Linked DNA regions of Homo sapiens: regions 1 and 3 are each linked to region 2. The links are contacts of gene promoters, found by promoter capture Hi-C in blood cells and fetal thymus (Javierre and others, 2016). All regions are on one chromosome and are shown on one strand. Each heading gives the region's core, a stretch centred on a gene start or on the middle of the fragment in contact. The rest is flanking DNA. Distances are from core to core; before and after follow the strand shown.

The links. Contacts are between HindIII fragments. The CHiCAGO score rates a contact against its expected background, and 5 or more counts as called.
Region 1: a fragment that was not itself captured here is called in contact with the fragment with the promoter of CFAP20DC in region 2 in 4 of 17 cell types (monocytes, M0 macrophages, M1 macrophages and 1 more); the score reaches 6.3 in monocytes.
Region 3: a fragment that was not itself captured here is called in contact with the fragment with the promoter of CFAP20DC in region 2 in 1 of 17 cell types (endothelial precursors); the score reaches 5.3 in endothelial precursors.

The regions. Positions count from the first base shown.
Region 1 is chr3:58,622,640-58,626,995 of GRCh38, reverse strand. All of the region lies in intron 2 of FAM3D-AS1 (FAM3D antisense RNA 1), which reads right to left. It also overlaps a transcript of FAM107A not described here. Among named protein-coding and RNA genes, the nearest start is that of FAM3D-AS1, 18 kb to the right of the region's middle. The HindIII fragment of the contact is 2,597 bases long and covers 445-3,041 here.
Region 2 is chr3:59,047,696-59,051,609 of GRCh38, reverse strand. CFAP20DC (CFAP20 domain containing) reads left to right here and starts at 1,585. Exons shown (of 17, transcript NM_001394063.1): 1 at 1,585-1,999. The coding sequence starts at 1,979. The HindIII fragment of the contact is 2,679 bases long and covers 1-2,607 here.
Region 3 is chr3:58,667,472-58,671,534 of GRCh38, reverse strand. It overlaps LOC105377109 (a long non-coding RNA gene), which reads right to left. Exons shown (of 3, transcript XR_940879.3): 2 at 3,627-3,982. Among named protein-coding and RNA genes, the nearest start is that of FAM3D, 2.7 kb to the right of the region's middle. The HindIII fragment of the contact is 2,693 bases long and covers 528-3,220 here.

The DNA.
Region 1 (4,356 bases), core at 494-2,993, 420 kb after region 2:
CATGGGAGCAGCCCAGGGGAAGAAGGTAGGAACCTCTAAGTGTCCTGTTGGGGCCCTGGTCATGGGAAGGGAGACTGGACCTAGCAAGTGGGAGCCCCGACCCACCTACCCTGCAGCTTCAGCCGGCAGTGCCCACCAGCCCTCCCCCTGGAACTCACAGCCAAGACTTGCATCTAGAAAGCAGGCAAGGGCTCAGGGAAGAACCAGTGTCCTATCTCTCCATCTCTAGGACAGACTCGGGGGCAGCCAAATCTCTCTGGCTCCCTGGTCTTAACCACACACATCTCTACTTCCCTGAATAAAAGCTCCCTGGGTACCCCTTCCCCATACCCCAGGAGAGTGTCTGATGCAGGTGGATACAGGGGAAAGATCTTAAAATTATTATTATAAAGTTAGCTAACCAGCTGTTACCAGTTGTAGGGCAATAGGCAAGTTATTTAAGCTTTCTGTACCTTATTTCCTCACCTGTAAAATAGGGCCAATAATAATCACTACCTTGGAAAATCATTGTGAAAATTAAATGAGTGAAAGTGTTTGGAACACTGCCTGGCACTGTGTAGAGGCTTTGCTCCATTATTATTAGAATTCTATTCATGTTATTATCCCTCACCTTCTAAGCCTGAGCTCTCAGCTGGGGGTTTGTAGACAGCATTGCCTGAGAACTGTTTCTGGAAATGTGCTCTGCGGACCCCTGCGTCAGCATCCTGGGGTGGGGAGTAGGAGGGAGCTTGTGAAACAGTCACTTTCTCATGGCCCATCAGACCTCCTGGATCAGCCTCTTAGGGGCAAAGAGGGGCCTGCATTTACTCACCAGCTCTCGGGATTGTCCTACGTGCTCACTGCTCTCCAACCACAACGACCCGGTACTGCCATCCCAGTGGCATAGACAGGCTGCCGTGTCCCAGATCCACCACCCACCTACCGTGGCGATGACCTGAACCCCTCTGGACCTCAGGTTCTTGTTTATAAAGGGGGGCTGGTACCTGCTTCGTGGGAAGTTCAACAAGATGATGCCTGTGAAGTGCTCAGTGTGCTACCCCAAGCCCAGAGGCTCCCCGATAAACATGGGACTCTGATCCTCAGACAACCAGTGATGACCTGTTCCATCAAGGTTGAGAAACTCAAGGAAGAAGTAATTTCTTAGCCAGGGTCATGCAGCTAGTGGGGGAAAGAGCAGGGTACTGCTATTGTTGTTAATTTGGAAAGAGGAGCTTTATTTCTCATAAAGGGTTGCAGCCTGCAGGGTGGCCATTCCGAGAGGCTGGGAAGCATGGCCTCTGGCCAGAATCCAGAAACTGACACTTTGAGGAAGAGGCAAAGGGAGTAGAAATTTATGCTGAGCAGCATGGCCAAATATACATATTCAATAAGCTGTGGGAGGGGTCATGAATATTTATGAAAGGAGAAACATCTACATGCACAGTTGAGCTTCATGCCTCTTACAGGCCCCAGGTACAAAAAAATGTTGGCCTTAGTGTGATCTGAGGGTGGAGTTTTCAGCCCTCTGATGTCAAAGGTGAAGCAGGGAGCACGAAAACCCTCACTGTGCATCCTCTGCAGACTGGCTAGAACCGCTCCATGATTGGTGATCTCTTATCAAGAAAGAATGCTGGTTGGTTTTTGTGTTAAAACCACAAAAGGGAGGGGCAGTTGGTTGAAATCAGCATGGAGTCTTTTGAAAAGGCCTGTTTCTGTTTAGCTCTTAGGGAATTAGGATAACGGAGGTTATCAAGGGATGGCACACTACGGGGCACGTGCGACCTCCCATCCCGTCATGGCCAGAAACCCGGTTTTCAAGATTTCTCTGGGGTCTCCTTGGCCAAGAGGGGGTCCGTTCAGTCACTTGCCAGAGTGGAGGGGTGGGGTTTGTTTAAAGTTTTATTTTTATTTCTCATTTTTATTGGGTAGGATTTTGACCCCATTCTGCTTGACTCCAAACAACCCAGCCCATCCCACCCTTCCTGGTCCATAGCTCTGTCCACAGCATCTTCCTCAGCCCCACCCCAACCTCCCACAGAAGGCTGTTGATCAGGCAGGCACCTGCTGCCCTATGCCAGGGCCTATGTGGAGCTGGAGCCAAGGGTGAGGAGACACAGCCCCTGCCCTTGAGGCCGTCCCTGTCAGTTGCAGAGACTAATAGGCAGGCAAAAAATAGTTGGTAGTATGTGTGAAAGTTGAAGCAGAGGTGACTGGGCACATGACCCCTGGGCCAGGAGTCAAAACACAGCGTTGTTGCTTCTATTCCTCTTAGGCAAGGTCTGGACTTTGCTTTTAGGTGAACTCACCTTTGTCCCCTGGGGAATGTCAGGGGCATAGGCTTTGCCTAGAATCCTAAACCCACACTGGCAGGGGATGGAAGGGATCACGTGGTTGGTTAAGGCCAACCAGAGCCCACCCTTGGAGCCACAGATCTGTCTCCCAATGGCATGGCTGTTACTCAATGGAAGGGAGAGTGCTGGACATTTCATTGTAATGGCCCCCCAGGAGGAGAGACAGCGTTCTCTCCAGCTGTGGGGTGGGCAGAGAGAATGGAAGAACACTGAAAGGGTCGAGGGTGTGACAGATAGACCACTGGGCCAGGAGTCAAAACACAGACATTGTTGTTTCTGTTCTTCTTAGGCAGGGCCTGAACTTCCCTTGGACTTGGCATTTTTTTAAATCTGCCCCTATCAAGGGCACCAAGGTGGGTACCCTGGCCTCTATCAGGGTTTTTGCAAGAAGATATTTTAACACACAGAAGCAATCCCTCTAACACTGTTTGGAACATTCCAGAAACTTCAACATTTGACCCACTGGGCATGCATTGATGCCAGAGAGGTGAGTTCAACCCAGATGTCTGGATGGGAGCCACGTTTTAAGCCCTTGCATTACACAGCAAGGCCACAGGTCCTGCGGCAGCAGTGGGTTCAAGAAAAGCACCTTCCATGGGCCTCAGACACCAGCCAGTTCATAGACACCAACAGAGTGTGGGCACGCCGTCCTCCACCCCAATCAGCAGTGGCCAGTGCCCTCGCCCAGGATAGAGGACACAACCACAAGCTTCCAGAGGCTGCCCTGCACAAGTCCAGCTCCCCAGGCTGTGACCGTAATGCCACCCTTAAAGGGGCTGCTAAATGGAAAATGTTCCTGAGCACAGCTCGCATGCACTGCCGCTTCTGCACCAATTCGCTCATTTAGTCTTCAAACAGCTCTTGGACATGGAGAGTTTTATCACCCAGAAATCCAGAGACGTGGAGAGGTTAAGCAAGAGGCTCAGGGTCACCCAGCTAGTAAGGGTGGAGTTAACATTTGACCCAGGCTGCCCTAAGAGCCTGGCCTCTCAAACAGCAAACCCCACTGCCGGCGCTTCTGAAGGTGGAAACACAACAGTGCTCACATCCCACCTGGAGCCCCTGTCGGGGCATCTCATTTAACCCCTCTGAGCCTCAGTTTCCTCAGCTGTCAAGCAGCATGATGATTTACCTTCCACAGCAGGCTGGGGCGAGGTGCCCAGCACTCAGTGGGTGCTCAGGGAATGGCACGTGGTCCTGTTGCTGCTGCTCTAGAGGCTGCAGGTGGAGCTTCTGCAGGGCAGGAGGCGGCAGCATAGCCCCCTGGAGGTTTGGACACTTGGCTTTCGTTCTGTAAAACATTTCTCCAAACCCAACACCACCCAGGTTTTTTGTGGCCCTGAAAGAGTCCTGTCCTCTGACCCTGTTGTTTACCAAGACACTCATCGCTTTGCATTCACCTTCATTAAGAGAAAGTTGCCTTGACTGAAACAAAAGGGGAAAAAAATAGAAGCACTATGGCTAAATTTGATGAATGGCCTGAAAGGGTGTGTTCATTCTATCAGAGCCCAGAAGGTACACATCTGGCTGGGCCCTGCTGGCTCCCTGAACAATTTTCCCTGCCGATGATGGATGGGCCTGCCTGGTGCTCAGGGCCGCCAAGCCCAGCAGAGGATTCCAGCTCATTGCGCCCAGCTCAGTGACGTGTGAGGACCTCATCAGGAGGCGCTCACAGCATGCCATCCCATCACCCTGACTCTGCCCACCGCCTCAGACGGCTTCTCTGAGGAGAAAGGGGCCTTGCACCTCACTTCTGGGTGCCATTGGGACTCCACAGCTGGGTTCCCAAAGGACTCCTGTGCCCAGAGTGGGAGGCTCAAGGACAAGAGGAGAAATGTGTCAGGAGCTCATGGGGGTGAGGAAAAAATATCCCCCCCAACAAAGGCAGAGCCCCCCTCCTGCCCAGCAGCCTCCCCACTGGGCCCTGGTCTCTGGGATCATTCCAGCCTCTCCACCTTTTCTCACTCCATTTGCCTGCCTGTATTGCCCTCCTGATTTCTATCCACCGCCAACACTTCTCTGCATT
Region 2 (3,914 bases), core at 336-2,835:
TGGCCCCACCCACATCCTGCTGATTGGTAGAGCCCAGTGGCCTGTTTTGTCAGGGCGCTGATTGGTGCGTTTACAATCCCTGAGCTAGACACGAAGGTTCTCCACGTCCCCATCAGATTAGCTGGATACAGAGTTTGGACACACAGGTTCTCCAAGGCCCCACCAGAGCAGCTAGACACAGAGTGTCAATTGGTGTACTCACAAACCTTGAGCTAAACACAGGGTGCTGATTGGTTATTTACAATCCCTGAGCTAGACGTAAAGACTCTCCACCTCCCCACCAGACTCAGGAGCCCAGCTGGCTTCACCTAGTGGATCCCGCACTGGGGCCGCAGGTGGAGCTGCCTGCCAGTCCCGCACCGTGCGCTCACACTACTCAGCCGTTGGGTGGTCGATGGGACTGGGCGCCGTGGAGCAGGGGGCGGCGCTCATCGGGGAGGCTCGGGCTGCACAGGAACACACGGAGTGGGTGGGAGGCTCAGGCATGGCGGGCTGCAGGTTCTGAGCCCTGCCCCGCGGGAAGGCAGCTAAGGCCTGGCGAGAAATCGAGCACAGTGCCGGTGGGCCAGCACGCTGGGGGACCCAGTAGACCCTCTGCAGCCACTGGCCCGGGTGCTAAGTCCCTCATTGCCCGGGGCCAGCAGGGCTGGCCGGCTGCTCCGAGTGCGGGGCCTGCCAAGTCCACGCCCACCCGGAACTCCAGCTGGCCTGCAAGCGCGGCACGTAGCCCGGGTTCCCGCTCGCGCCTCTCCCTCCACACCTCCCTGCAAGCTGAGGGAGTGGGCTCCAGCCTTGGCCAACCCAGAAAGGGGCTCCCACAGTGCAGTGGGGGGCTGAAGGGCTCCTCAAATGCCGCCAAAGTGGGAGCCCAGGCAGGGGAGGTGCCGAGAGCAAGCGAGGGCTCTGAGGACTGCCAGCATGCTGTCACCTCTCAGTGCCATATGACTTTGGCCAAGCCATTTAACCTTTCTGAGCCACAGTTCCTTAGCCAAAAATTGGCAATAGTACCTTCCATGTAAGAAGTGGCTCTGATCTAGAAACTAAATAAAGTAACTTAATAGTTACACTTAAGCCAGTGCTAGTCTCAATAAGTTATTATTTTCTACAAAAAAATCTTGGCTTCCTAGGGTCTTCTGAAACAATGAAAGGGTCCAGCAGACCCTCTTACTGCCTCAACGAACCCAAATTTGGGAACCTTCTAAGCAAAGGCCGCGTGAGGGTTCCATGAGTCCATGACTGTATCCCTCAGGAACCTACCAGTTATCTGTTTACCACGAGGAGAGACCAAACCGATGTGACAGTACTCTAGAAGAGTCCAGTACCTGGTATAGCCCTAATCCACGCTGAGTTTAGCCTTTTTAGTCGGCAGAGGTCATGACCTAAGTAAGGAGCGTGCTGCTCACCGTTTGGACCGCCCACCATTTCTCCAGGAGTCCCGCGGTTGCCTGGGCAACGCTACGTCACCGCGTATCCTCCCGTGCCCGTCGGCGAGAAGCCTAGAGAGCGCAACGCGCAGGCGCCCAGTGGGAACCAATGGGCGCGGCCGGAACGCGGGTGGCGCTCGGCGCTGCTCTTTCGCGGTTTGATTCTGGGGTGGGGCGGCAGCGGGAGCGCGCCCGCTTTTCCTAGGCCAGCGGGCGGTTGTCTGTGGCTCCGCGACTGGGCGCCCCGTCACGTAGGTTACACACACAATCACTCCCCAGGGACGGCCCGGAGTCCGTCCAGGCAGCTGCGCCCTCCCCAGACCCGGGCACCGCGGAGGCTGGAGCCGCAATGGTGCTGATGGAGGGCGGGAGATGGAGCTGACCAGGGGCCGGAGGGGCTGAGAAGAGCCTGCCCAAGTCTGGGCCAAGCACGAAGCCCTTTCCCACCCGTCGGGCTCCTGGGTTCCCGCCAGCCGATTTCCAGCCGTCAGGGTCACGCCACTCGCTGGAAACCCTGAACTCTGTGCCCCCCAAGCCCTGGGCCCCCTGCGGGAATGTTCAAAAATGAGTACCAGGTAACCCGAAACGGTTCTCCAACCTGTCTATACCTTTCTCCTCTTGGGTGAGGTAGTCCGTGATCGGGGTGAGGATAAAGTGCACCCTCTATCCCCATAATAAGGTCTTTTTCAGGGGTAAGACAGAATTAATGGGTGAATGCTGTTGACCCAGAGAGAAGGAAAAATTTACCAATGTCTAGGCGTATGATTTGGCTTTTGTTCACTCTCCAACTCAGTGTTTCTTAAGATGAATTAATTGTCTGTGATTCTACCTAAAATGGAGATCTTAAGCCCCACTGAAACCTCCTGAATCAGAATCTTGAGGGCAGGGCCCAGAAATCTTGAGTTTTAACAAAGCGCTTTGGAGACTCAGTATTCATGCAACACTGGTATCTCAGAAGCGATTTAGAAGAGTGAATGAGTGAATGCATGCATTGTTACATCAAGAAAGAAAATAAGCACTTTGGCTATGTGCTGTTTTATTTTTACAGAACTGGGAGTCAGTGAATCTCAGACGTTGGAGTACATCAGGCTTTCTTGGGGTGCTTGTAAACGTGCAGATTTCCTGACCCGCATCCCAGATCTGGTGAATCCGAATCTCTGGATGGGGGTCACTTGATTAAGCTTTTTAACTAGTTCCCCCAAGTGATTCCTATGCAGGGGGTCCAAGGATCACACTTGGAGAAACACTGCTTCTGGGTCGTCCTCAGTCACTTTGAGTATCCTAGAGTGTCTCGACCTGCTTTCCTCACCTCACTGGACACCTCCCTTCCTGGTCTCCTCTCCTCGCCTTTGCAAGAGGTTACACTCCTTGTTTACAGTCTGTTTACCATGCTAGTCCTGCTGTTCTGATGAACGTTTGTTACTGTATCTAATCAGTTCTCTACCCGTCTCCACCTCTTTATTGCTTCTGCCTTTTCATTCACCTAACACTACTTGCCTCATTATGAGTGCTCTCGGAGTAGTCTGCAGTTCTCTTTCTTCTGTCCCATTCGTTATCACTAATTGGGCTAGAACACTTTTAGAGAGTTTGTCTCACTTCTTATAGGTAAAATATATTATCAAAAAAACATGTGCCCACTACAGGAAACTTGGAGGACATGGGAAAGCAAAAAGCAGCAGGGAGAGTTTGCCGTCTCACCGAGTATGAGGGCTTTTGTCTTTTAAAACAACTAGCTGTCTCAAATTTAAATTCATAGTGAAATATTACCTGCCCTCACAAGCTATAGTAATTCTATCCCATATACAGTTTGCACGTAATACTGCCTAAGGAAGAAGACATTAAATGTCTTACCTCCAAGTGATCGTGTGTTATAACTGAGAGGCAAAAATATCTTTATATTACTGAGAAAAATTAAAAGCTGGAAATTCCTTACAGAAATTAGATTTGCTCACATATTGTTTATAATTCAAACCGTATTTAATCCTCATATAGGATTCTCATTTTTTGCAATAAATTCTTCCTTAGAGATAATTATCTTATTTAATTCCCCTTTCTTAAATAATTAAAGCTTATGGACATTCAGTAATATCTTCAGTGTGCTTACATAAGTGTGTCCTTCCATGTTCTCATGTTTACAATGGGGAACCAGTAGGCTGTCTGTAGACACAATATTTTATTTCTCTTATACAGATTTTATAGATCTTCACATTAATTTGTATTACATACGTAAAAATATCTTGTAGGAATGCTCAAAATAGGAATTTCCAAATCCCTCCCAGGCCTTTTTATTGACCAGTACTAAACTGTTTAATTTCCCTTCCCATTTTTTGAATAAACTTTGATGGTGCTGTTGAGCCCCTGCTGTGAGCTGAGTATTATGCTCAAGGTTTAATGTTTAGTATCTTATGTAATCCAACAACCCATTTTACAGATGGAGAATCAAGAAGTTAAGTAACTCCAAGTTCAGATAGTTAAAAAGCCAGTGTTGGA
Region 3 (4,063 bases), core at 625-3,124, 380 kb after region 2:
CCCAGAAACTAAGCGCCCAGGAGTTGAGGAGGGGAGGTGAAGATGGTGCTTTGCGACATGTGATCATCTGCAGTCATTAAGAAATCACATTTACAAGTTTTTAACGACCCAGGGAGATGCCCCAACTGTAACAACAAGTGAAGAGAGGAGGATACCGAGCTGGATGTTTGGGAAGAGCCACACAACACAACCGGGGAAAGGAAATAGCCCAAGGCACTAACAGCCAGCCCCAAGGGAGACTGTACTTGCCTGATTTGTTTCCTTTACACTTTTGTTTTCTTCCAAAGTTTTCATGATGGGACTGTATTATTTTTATAACTAAATAAGAGAAATAAGCTTTCTGTGGAGTCCTAATTAGGGAAAGGGAGTCAGGCTGTTGGGACCAGGGGAAAGCAAAAGGAGAAAGCAGATGAGCTACAAGTCTGCCTTTCTTCATGGTCCAGGACACAGCCCTCCTGCACAAATAAGTCACCATCTTCCTGCGCCCAGCTGTCACCAGACATCTGCAGGTGAGCTCACTGCAAGCTTGGTGTCGTGGTGCTGCGCACAGCCCTCTTCAGCACACAGCATCTGCACCGTCCTATAAAATCTCCAGCCGGCCTTTGTTTCTTTGCAGTCGGCTTCTGTCATGCAGGCTGCCCTCCTTGCAATGTATTTTTCTACTTTCTCCAATAAACCTGCCTTTCTTTACCTACAACTGTCTTGGTAAACTATTTTACCCCCGCACCACTGGGCCAGAGAGTTGTCAGTTCCCTGCAACACTTTTGTGTTACAATAACTTCCCTAAGTATATATACAGCTTGGCTGGCAGCAGAGGCAGAGTCCAAGTTCATTGGCAATGAAAGGGCTGTTGGTGCTTCCCACCTCCTCCCTGCCACCACGGCTGCCTTTGGCACCAACACCCCAGGGAAAGGATGAATTACCAATTATTGTACTTTCAAGACCTCCTGCCAAGCCGTGTATCTAGACTTGACACTGATACCCACTCTGTCAGTGTTGCCCTCTGAGACAGAAGAGAAGGCATTCTGGTCTCTTTCACCAGGAAATTCTGATTCACAGGTGATATTACACCAGTAAGAAGTAATGATGATAACAGGCAGCATTTACTGAGCATCTACTATGGGCCAGGCCCTTCCAATGTACTCTCTTACTTTATTCTCTTGACCACCCTGTAATAAACGGATTATCCTACTTAATAGAAGAGAAAATGAAGGCTTGGGAAGGGGAAATTACTCATCAAGGTGACCCCACTGGTCACAAACAGAGTTAGGACATACAAGCAGGCCTGTCTCACCCAGGGCCCATGTTCTCCACCTGCCATGGGCTGGTGAGTAGAGCAGGGGGTGGTGGGGCAGGGGGTGGCATGCCCAGGAACCAGCACCAATGCCAGACCCCACTGATTGCTCCCTGAGTGTACTCTGGGGAGAGTGATCCTCGGATACCTGCTCAGGCTACTGCTGCCTCAGCAGGGCTTTTGCTATTGGGAGGAAATAAGCGATGACTTCATGACAGCAATTAACTCCTTCAAGATCTGAAGACGTCAGGGTGGCTGCCCTGTGCCTTCCCTTCCTCCTAGGGCTGGGGTGAGAATGCCTGAGACTCAGAGAGGGGAAAGGAAGGCTCCAGGTCACACAACTTCACAGGGTGCGGTGGGGGTCACAGCTCCCGGCACTCAGACCAGTACTGTCTGTGTTGACTCTGATGCAGAAATGAGCTCAAGCTCAATCACCTGTCCATTGATTCAGTAAGTCTTTGTTGAGCACCTGCTGAGTTCCAGGCACTGTTTTTGTTGTTGTTGTTGTTGTTGTTGTTGTTGTTGTTGTTGTTGTTGTTGTTGTTGTTTGAGACGGAGTCTCGCTCTGTCGCCCAGGCTGGAGTGCAGTGGCGCAATCTCAGCTCACTGCAAGTTCCACCTGCAGGGTTCATGCCATTCTCCTGCCTCAGCCTCCCGAGTAGCTGGGACTACAGGTGCCCACCACCAAGCCCGGCTAATTTTTTGTATTTTTAGTAGAGATGGGGTTTCACTGTATTAGCCAGGATGGTCTCAATCTCCTGACCTCATGATCCGCCCGCCTCAGCCTCCCAAAGTGCTGGGATTACAGGGGTGAATGAGCAGCACCTGCAAGATCCCTGCCCTCTTGGGATTCGCTTTCCAGAAGAGTGAGACAGGTGACAAGTAAACAATAGTCAGGAAATATCATTTCAGGCTGTTAAGTTCGATAACGAAAAGGAAACAAAATTGCACCTGTGATTAGCAGACTCTTGGCCCCCTAATGGGATTAGGTCTGCATCCTGATCCCCAGAGCATGCGAATATATAACATAACTGAGCAAAGGGGAATTAAGGTCTCAAATGGAATTAGAGTTGCCGATCAGCTGACCTTAGGATAGGGAGAGTAACCTGGATTATCCAAGTGGGCCCAGTGTTGTCACCGGGTCCTTAAAAGTGGAAGATGAAAGCATAAAAGAGTTAGAGGGAGATGTAAGGAAGGAAGAATTGTCATGGAGACCCAACATTGCTGGCTTTGAAGATGGAGGAAGGGGCCATGAGCCAAGAAATGCAGGTGGCTTCTAGGCACTAGAAAAGACAAAAAATGTTTCTTCTGGAGTCTCCAGAAAGGAATGCAAGCCTGCCAGCACCGTGATTCCAACCCAGTGAGACCCATATCAAGCTCCTGCCCTCCAGAGTGGTTAGCTTCACAGCTGTGTTATGAAGCTGCTGGTCTGTGTTTGTTTGTTACTGCAGCTCCTCAAAGCACCCCTCCTCAGAGAGGCCTTCCCTGACCACCTGCTGAGGAAAGTTCTCCTGGAATCACTTTCATGGGTTCTTTCACAGAATGTCTCAATTTTAAATGATTTGCTTGTGAAGGAGTTCCGAAGTAACTCCCCAAAATATGCCACTTTGAGACTTTGAACTGAGGTCACTTGGGGAACAGCAACTGCAGGGAGGGGCTTTCCGAGTTTTCCTTTTCTGTCTAAAGACAGATTGTCCAGAGCAAACGCAGTGGCCATGAATCTCCGCCCAGGGAATCTCATCAGCCGGAAGGACTGGCTCGTTTCACAGGAGTCTAAAGGTCCACACTACGTCCAGATAGCCTTTGTCACAGGCTGTCGTCACCTGTCCTGCTGAGGGCCCACTCCTCTTCCCCAGAAATCATTTACTCTCCACTACGGTGCTGACACCCCACCCCTCTCTCCCTTGTGAAGAGGGTATACAAGCTTCTAAATCTTACTGGGTGTGGGGAATTCCTTTTCTTTCCTGGGATGCCCCCATGCATGTGATAAATGTCTGTACCTTTTCTCCTGTTATTCTCCCTGCTGTCAGTTTAATTCCTGACCAGCCAAGGCAGCTAGAAGGGTAGAGAAAGCCATTTTTACTCCCCTACACTTGTGTGCTTATTTATATTGGAAGTGAGGGTCAGGAGGGCCCCCCTGAGGAAGTGACACTGCAGGTCAGGTCTGAACAAGACCCAGGCACCAGTTATGGGCAGAACCGTCCTAGCAGAATAAGGGAGAGCAAGAGGCAAGGAGATGGGACAGAGGACAGGACCAGTCCTAAAGCCAGTCAGAGTGAAGGAAAGCACTGCCTCGCCCTGGGATACATCCTGAGGGGGCCCACGTGCCTACCTGGGGATGGGCAGCTGGAACAGCAGAACTGGGGCCACTCCCGGCACCTCATCACACAGGGTCCGCTCCCTGCTCTTCCCTTGCACCAGCTCCCTGGGCATGCATCTTCATTTCCTGACCAGCTGCTGGACCTCATGCCCCTGAATATTCCTTCCAAGTGGGCCACACAGCCTACGGAAGCATTCAGAGTCAGCAAACAAGGGAGGAAGTTGCCAGGAGCCTGTGTGCCAAGGACCGAGGCAAGAACTCCTCCTAAGAGGAAAGCGCTTGGGAAAGAGACCATGATTTGTGACAAAGACTGGGAGTGCTGGATCAGGGGAGGGGGAAGCTGAGCCCCTCTCAGTGCACCTTGGGTCCTAAGGAGAGAGAAGGGAGACAAAGGCTGCATTCACCATTTCACTAAAAGTCTGCCACTGAGCAGCCCTTCTTTTCTTTCT